Regions from separate parts of the Homo sapiens genome. Here regions 1 and 3 are each linked to region 2. Evidence: promoter capture Hi-C in human tissues and cell types (Jung and others, 2019). All regions are on one chromosome and are shown on one strand. Each heading gives the region's core, a stretch centred on a gene start or on the middle of the fragment in contact. The rest is flanking DNA. Distances are from core to core; before and after follow the strand shown.

Region 1 (2,700 bases), core at 124-2,623, 69 kb before region 2:
TTCACATTTTAATCAATAAAATAAAACATGCAAAATGAAATTTTTTACACATTAGAAAAGAAAAAAACAAAACTGTTGCTTGTGGATCATGTAAGTCCATACTCAGAAAAATCAAGAGAAGTCAACAGAAATAATCAGTAAAACTATCAAGTAAATTTAATCAGGCCTCATTCAAAAGAGCTGCACAAAGTGTAAAATATCTAGGAATAAACTGAGCGGAAAATGTTCTGGGCCTAAAGTGAGGAAACTGAAGCACTTCCCCAAGCAACAGAAGAGAAATCCAAATAAAAGGGAGACAGACCCATTTCTGTGTGAAAGACTCAGCTTGCTCAGGACGCCATTTCCTATGTTGAAACTTAACTTTTTGGTGATGGTATCAAGAGGTGGGGCCTCTGGAAGGTGATCAGTTTGTGAGGGTGGAGCCCTCATGAACAGGGTTAGAGCCCCTTGTCCCTCCACTGTGTGGGAGCATCGTGAGAGGAAATGTGGCCTTACCAGACAAGGAATCGGCTGCACCTTGATCTGGGACTTTGTAGCCTCCAAAGCTTGAAAAATAAATTTCCATTTTTCATAAGTCACCCAGCCTATGATATTTGGTTACTGCAACGTGAATAGACTAAGATAATATACTATTAAAAATTGTTCTTATGACTAGAAATCTATAACAACTTGTTTTTCTGGCTGGGAGCAGTGGCTCATGCCTGTAATCCCAACACTTTGGGAGGCTGAGGTGGGAGGATTGCTTGAGGCTAGGAGTTTGAGACCAGCCTGGTCAACACAGTGAGACTCTGTCACAATGAACAAACAAACAAACAAAAACCCAGATAAAAAAAGAACTCGTTTTTCTGAAGCCAATAGAAAGAGACCAAAGAACATGTAGGAAAAACTGGGTACCCATTATGCTCGAGGTGCCATGAGACAGGTAACTTGGAACAGGAGTGTCTCTATGTCTATGAAAAGTGAACTCAATGAATACCTTATTTAGCTGATATTTAAATAGCTTGGCTTGGCTTTTGGTGTAAAGACAGGCTAAGAAACCTCTTGTTCTGTTAGCCTTAGACTACATGACTACATGTGGCCTTTGCAGATGCTTTTGAAAAGTTTAGGATCCTCCCATTACCACTGTTAAATAAGAATAAAAATGGAGGCTAGAACTGACCTTTGCCTGTGAGTCAATGGCCTACCCTCAGCTCAGCTCAAAATCTACAGATGTCCATTTACCCACTTAAACTGTAAACCAATTTTGAGCTTTATTTCTTTGTTGAAACACCTCAGCACATTGTAGCCAATTAGTGACCCAGGTAATTTACTCAACCTAACCAATGAGAATTAAGCTTATGAACTTCCTCTTTCATAGCATATAAACCTTGCTGTAACCATGAGACAAGCTTCTTACCAGTTTTGGCTTTGAAGTCTCCCTATTTGCAAACAGTTTGTTTCTCACTCAATAAAATCTTCATATCATATTTTTAGTGTCAGGAGTGGGAACCAAAGAAGACCCCTGATGAGGGTTGAGGCCAGTGAGGAGCCCAGGGCTGGCACCCACGGACCCACTGCATCAGGGAGTAGCCCAGGGCTGGCACCCACGGACCTGCCACATCAGGGAGTAGCCCAGGGCCAGCACCCAAGGACCTGCCACATCAGGGAGTAGCCCAGGGCTGGCACCACAGACCTACTGCATCAATGAGTAGCCCAGGGCCAGCACCCACGGACCCACTGCATCAGTGAGTAGCCCAGGGCCGGCACCCACGGACCCGCTGCATCAGTGAGTAGCCCAGGGCCGGCACCCACGGACCCGCTGCATCAGTGAGTAGCCCAGGGCCGGCACCCATGGACCCGCTGCATCAGCGAGTAGCCCAGGGCCGGCACCCAAGGACCTACTGCATTTACTGCTTTCTCACGGGCCGTGGAAGTCCAGGGTAAGTCTCTAGGATCCAATCTCCACACCCTTTGTGTTGAGCTTGCCCATTTTCTTGAGTAATCTTTGTTGAACCTTCTTGGTGGGTCACCCTGTTCTGTACAGAAGTGGAAGAAACAGCTGAACTGTTTTGGAACAGCTGTTCATGTCTGGGTAATTTAAGGCAAAGATGGGTTCCACCTGGTCCAAAATCCTCCGTGGGCCAGGATCTTGTGCGTTTTTGGAAAAATGGGTAAACTTAAAAAAGGATAATTTGGAACTGCCATGGCCACTTTGGGGAACCTTTAACATTTACATATTAGAAAAGAAAAAAACAAAAATGTTGCTTGTAGATCGTGTAAGTCCATAAGTAAGATAGATCAGCTTAGGGGTGCCCTTGAAGACAGAGGATCTTCATCTTTTCAGAGACAGTGAAATGCCTTCTTTGTTATGCAGAAGCTTCTAAAAGACAAACTGATTCTCCAAAAGTATCCTTACAGTGCACAAATGAAAAATCTTTAGTAAAAAAGTCTTTAGCCATTTGAGCAAATTATTTTGTCTGCCAGAAACACAATTTGGATCCAGCTGTTCTTTTATAAACTAGCAAGTTTTGTATTATTGTACCAGACACATGACTGAAATTTCTAAATGGAAGCTGTAAGATCTCTGTCTATCTCTATCTTTATGACATGTGTATTTTTTTTTAACCTCTGGATGGCATTTCCAAAATTAATGTATAAAATAGCTCTATTTAATTGGCTCAAAGAAAAATAAGCACTTGTATAAGTAATTCTAAAACTTTC
Region 2 (2,700 bases), core at 121-2,620:
ACCAGGAACACAATATCCTAACAGAATTAAGGGGAAAACAATGCTGGAACTTCTGCCACCTTCAGCCCCATTTAAAAGAGCCCCGAGCTTGCTTCTTGCTCGTGACTGAACCAGCACCAGGCACTGACTTTGGGCTCCAAGTCCTCTGTTTTCATGCAGGACAAGTAAGTGGCTTAAATTTCAGAATTAAGGAAATTATATTGATGTAAAAAGAAAAACTTTGTTAAAGTGTAAAAGACATTAATAATACCTGACGTTCCTGGAATATGCACAGCAATGACTTCTTTTAGGACATTTTAGCAATGAAAGCAGCATTAACCGTGATAAAACCCGTTACTTTCCAAGGACCCGCTCCGCAAAGCGCCCACCCTCGAGGGAGGAAAGCCGAGCTGCGCCTCCGCGCAAGGCCAGGGAGTGTGGCTCGAGCCCCGCTGCAGACCGGGCGTCGCCGGTTAATCAATGACACTGTCGGGTCAGCAGCGCAGCCTCCCAGCTGCGGAGGGGCCGCGGATCGATCCAGACCTGCCTCGGCTGCGACGCGCACGAAAACCGCGCGCACCGCAAACCCGCTTCAGTCTCCAAGAGGAAAGCAAGAAACAAGGCTCGGGTTTTTTTCTTTCTTTTTTCTTTCCTTTTTTTTTAAGGTTCACAGAGGGAATAATTCAGAACTCCATGTGCGAAGGCACTTAATCAACAAACTTATGAGCAGTTAGTTCCTCCAGTGCCCTTGGGAAAAAGCAACTATTTCCAAAAGGAAACTTTATTTAACCGACGCCACGTCCCCCCGACACTAAAACTAACCAGTAAGTACAGGGAGGGACCGAGAGGCATCTGCGGCCAACGCCAACCCCGATCTCCCCGTGAAACGCGCAGCCCGCGCAGGCGCCCGCAGCTCCCAGCTCCCGGGACGGCCCCGAACGAGCTCATCGTTGACGCGTCCAGGAAGAAACGATCCCGTTTCCAGCAAACCCCGGACGGTGGGGCGCGGGGAAGGGCGCAGGCAGCCTCCCAACCCGAGTCCCGCAACCCGGCGGGACCGGAGCTCAGCGCTTCACGCTCTCCGGGAGGAAGCTCCGGACCCCGGGCGACCCCGCTCCCTCTCCCGGACCCCGCCCGCGCTCCAGCACCCGGGAGGAAGGCGAAGACCGGCGGGAGGAGCGCTCTTCTCGGAAGGGGAGAACCGGGTCCGAGGCGCCGTGGGGCGGGGGTCGCGGGCGCACTCACGGGGGCGAGCAGCCAGCAGGTCAGCAGCGCGGGAGGCAGCAGCGTCCGCATCCCGAGCTCAGCGTGCCGGGGGCCGCCCAGCGCCCGCCGCCTCCGTCCTAGGTCCCCGCGGTTCCGCCGCCTCCAGCATGGGCCGGGAGCGAGTGCGCGGAGACCTCGGGCCCCGCAGCTGTAGCCGAGCGCCCGAGCGCGGGGGCCGCCCCCTCCGTCCCGGCAGCTGGAGCGCGCTCAATGCACGCCCGTCCCCCACGCGCCCCGCCGCTCCGCCCCCCGCCCCTGTCCCCGCCCCGCGCTGCCCCAATCCTCGTCTCCCTCCTCCCCCGAGAACCCCCGCTCCGCGCCCCTCCTCACCGCCCCCCACTTCCCCTTCCGCTGCGCCCCGCGCCCTCTCCTCGCCCCTGGGCTCTCTGTCCCCGCCGCGCGCGCTCCCTCTGGTCTCCTCGACCCCCCCAGCCTCTCTCTCCGTTCTCCTCCCCTCTTCCCTGGCCCACGCCCCCCTCCCGGCCGCGCCTCCCCGATCTGTGGGCGGAGGGGCTGGGAAGCGGGGTGCTCAGTGCGCGCCCGGCTCCGAGTAGAGAGAACTGGGGGAGAGCGGCCGGCGCGGGGCCGGGAGAGGAGGACCGGGCCAGGTGTGCGCTCGGAAGGGGCGGATGCCTTTGCGGCCGCCTGTACCTGCCTTTCTAAACAACTGCGGAAGCCCAAGAAAGCGGCCAGAGACCCGTCCGGGGTGGGCGCGCCGTCTTTGTAGCCAGTGGGGCTAGGTTGGGGCATCTGAAAATGGAGAAAATCAGAGTGCTTTTTGGTGGGGATCCCCGCAGCCTCAAAGAGGACATCAGGTCGAACAGAAAGCTGGAGAAAAACGCAGACGGGGGTATAGGTGGGTCCCAGCCTCAGCTGGGTGGCGGGTTTTGTGTCCTGCGTTTGCAAAACGGGGGTCATTCTCTCCCCGCAAACGCGGCGGCGGGTGGGGAACGCTGGGCGGGGACTCACGCGGTGCCACTGGGGCCGCCCCGCCGCGCCCCACGCGGGACTGCGCGGCCTCCCAAGGCGCCCGCGTGACCAACCCAGGAGAGCTCGGCGTTCCCCAGCAAGTGGAAAGCACTGGAATGAGAGATACAAGTTAAGTTCGTGTTGTTTTAATTTTTTATTTGGAAATAATTTCAAACTTACACAAAAATTAGAAGAATAAGAATATTACAAATAACTCCTTTTTATCCTTTTTGTGGATTCGGTCATTAACATTTACCTCATTGGGCTTATCATTTGCTTCTCTCTGATCCCCCACCCCCCGTATTCACAGATATCGATTTTTCTATCATCTGATGTTTATCATCCACATTATCTATCATCTACCTATCCATCATCTACGTATCATCTATCGATCTGTCATGTACCTATCATCTATCATCTTCCTATCGATCATCTATCTGTAATCTGTCATCTATTATCTGTCATCTATCATCTACCTGTCCATCA
Region 3 (2,878 bases), core at 343-2,842, 110 kb after region 2:
TTCATTTGCTTGACTAAACTGAAATTCTCAGCAAACCAGGCTTCCCACCTCTCACTCCTGACAACCCTCGGGGTACTGCCACTGCAGTAACTTGGGCTGGAAAACCTTCAGAAAACTGTCTGTCTTCACTCCACCCCTGCACAGCCCTCTCTTCCTCCAAAGATCTGTGGTTTGGGACAGGCTAGTACAGAATTTGGTTCTGGGCAGGTACACTTGGCTTCCATTTCAAAGCACCCAAGTCAACCTGGCAACCTGAAGGAACTAGAAAAGCTTCTGCTAATCAGTTGTTGGTCAGCAGCCCTGATTCTTGTGGACGGCAGGGACGATAGGCTCTCCTGGGAAGCAGCGGTCTTTGGAACTGTGGGGACCACAAAAGCTCTCCCTGTGCCGGCACCACGGCCCTCCCACTTCATCACTGCCGTCTAACTGCCCTCAAACTGTCACTCCTTTTCCTGAATCATTAGTTTTCTTGGAAAAAAATAATCAGACCCATAAGGAGGAGGAGAGTATGAAGGAAAAAATAAAACCAAAATGAGCAAAATTCTTCCAGTCAATGGGGGTGGGGAAATAAGACTCATCAGCAGCCCCTCAAAAATAACATGATTATCTTTTATTCCTTTTTACTTTTGGAGTTCTGTTGTAAATACTTACATTACATATAAAAGCAGTTTAAAAAAATTTCCATAGTGCCACAACTACTTACTGGGGATAATGTGGGTATAATCTTGCCTGCAGGCAAGAGAGAGATTATTACACCTATTTTCAAGCTTTCTGTGACTCTCAAAAATAGATGTTGACATAGGTTTTTGAATGCTTCTGGAAATGTTAAAATCATTATGTGATTATTCAAAATATAGTTTGCCATGTGATCAAAAGCTAATAAACTCTTCTATGTTTATTTTGTTTTAAGGCATAATCGGCACAAATGCATTGTTCCAGTGGCTTAACATTGTATGTAAACGGTATAAACAGAAATTGTGGAAATGTGTGTTTTCACTTGATTCAAACAGAGAAAGAGTTCCAAATACGAAAATGAACTAAATAAAAAATGAGATTGGATTGCTGCCTGAAATTTGTAAATTTAAAAAACTAACTCTCTAAAGTAAATTACTTAGGGACCTTCATATTTACCAAATCTTCTGCATAATAAACTTAGAATTAAACTTAGCCCTCCTACATGCAAATGTAATACAAAGAAAAGCATCAATAAGAGGAATAAACCATGCAAAATATCTCAGATGAATAAGACTCATGGCCAGGTAGGGTGGCGAACGCCTATGACCCCAACGCTTTGGGAAAGCAAAGCAGGAGGATCGCTTGAGCTCAGGAGTTTGAGAACAGCCTGGGCTGCATAGTGAGACCCTGTCTCCACAAGAAGTAAAACAAAAAAAGCAAAAAAAAAATTAGTTCCGTGGTGACGCACACCTGTAGTCCCAGCTACTTGGGAGCCTGAGGTGGGAGGATCGCTTGAGCCTAAGATTTCAAAGCTGCACTGAGCTGTGATTGAGCCACTGCACTCCAGTCTGAGTGAGGGAGCGAGACCTTGTCTCAAAAAGAAAAAGAAAAGATTGATAGTTACAGACTACAGCTTGCCTCAAGGCTGTTTGATTTGTCCTCCTAGAAATCTATCAAGTTTTCTTTATTCAAACCACTCTCTGAGGTGGGGAAAAGCTCCAAATACTGTGTTTTAAGGAGTTGTGCCACCAAAACACCACATAGGAAAACCAAAAAGGATCTTTCCAAAAGGTCCCTGAGACTTACGAATATGACTCCTGAGGAAAGACAGAATTGTTTGCAGATAAAGTGATCAATGTGTTAAAAACTGGCAGATGTGAAAAGGGGGGAAAAGAGATCAATGAACTGAGAGGGTCTGGAGTGGAAACAGGAGAGAGCCAGGGAGTCTTCAAAGGGAGTTGCTGGCTGGGTCTGTTGTAACTAAACCAATCTGGTTCAACTTTTATGCGACTAAGTTTTGAATTATTTTTTAGTTTCCACAGACCCCCAAGTTGAAGGTCACATAACTTGAGCGTGCCCAGATGAACCCAGTGTGCAACATGGGCATAACCTCAGTGGTTGGGCTGAGGAGCGGGGACTGAATTAAGAAGTGGACACGACATGGCGGGATCCAGGATCCAATCAGATCGAACCCTGGCATAACCCATGGCAGGATCCAGTCAGACCACACTTCCCAGCACCACCTCATTGCAAGACCCAACCAGATGATGCCTCACTACCCCTTGACCATAAAACCTGCCCCAACCCCTGACTCAGGAGACACACTTGAGCCCAACTCCTGTGTCCTCGCTCGGCTGCTTGGTAAAAACCCTTCTTGCTGCAAAAATCCAGTGCTTCAGTATTTGGCTTTCCATTACATGTGGGCAAATGGAACCCATTTGGTAACACTGTGAACTCAGGGACTTGAATCAAATGAACTCTCAGCCTGGTGAGGTTGGTTTTGAAGAACTGGACAGAGCGTTTCTATTCTGACTTATACTAATTAATTATGTTATGTATATTTTTATTTTGTCCAGTTTCTAGTAACAATAATTTGAAAAAAACAGTTACAAGAACAATTTACTGAGTATTTACACTGTACTTTATATAAATTTCTTATTTATTCTCTGAACAATCTTAGTAACTCAGTTTATACATGAGAAAACCAAAGGCTGAGAGAGGTGGGGTAAGTTCCCAGAATCATATGGCGCACTTAATAATGGAACCGAGATTTGAACTCAAAGACCACACAATTATGTGTGATACTATGGCAAACTGATGATTTCTTTTTTTTTCTTTTCTTTTTTCATTTTATTTTATTTTATTATTATTATACTTTAAGTTTTAGGGTACATGTACACAATGTGCAGGTTAGTTACATATG

The links. The method cuts DNA at HindIII sites, captures the fragments that hold promoters and counts their contacts. A contact is called where the count stands out against the background at its distance.
Region 1: a contact is called between a fragment that was not itself captured here and the fragment with the promoter of VIPR2 in region 2, in 5 of the 25 tissues and cell types used here (H1 embryonic stem cells, dorsolateral prefrontal cortex, ovary and 2 more).
Region 3: a contact is called between a fragment that was not itself captured here and the fragment with the promoter of VIPR2 in region 2, in 3 of the 25 tissues and cell types used here (H1 embryonic stem cells, dorsolateral prefrontal cortex and spleen).

Annotation. Positions count from the first base shown.
Region 1 is chr7:159,074,027-159,076,726 of GRCh38, forward strand. All of the region lies in intron 4 of VIPR2 (vasoactive intestinal peptide receptor 2), which reads right to left. Among named protein-coding and RNA genes, the nearest start is that of LINC00689, 67 kb to the left of the region's middle. The HindIII fragment of the contact is 3,943 bases long and covers 1-2,700 here.
Region 2 is chr7:159,143,497-159,146,196 of GRCh38, forward strand. It overlaps VIPR2 (vasoactive intestinal peptide receptor 2), which reads right to left and starts at 1,371. Exons shown (of 13, transcript NM_003382.5): 1 at 1,225-1,371. The coding sequence starts at 1,275. The HindIII fragment of the contact is 14,641 bases long and covers 1-2,700 here.
Region 3 is chr7:159,255,344-159,258,221 of GRCh38, forward strand. No RefSeq gene overlaps it. Among named protein-coding and RNA genes, the nearest start is that of VIPR2, 110 kb to the left of the region's middle. The HindIII fragment of the contact is 7,606 bases long and covers 1-2,878 here.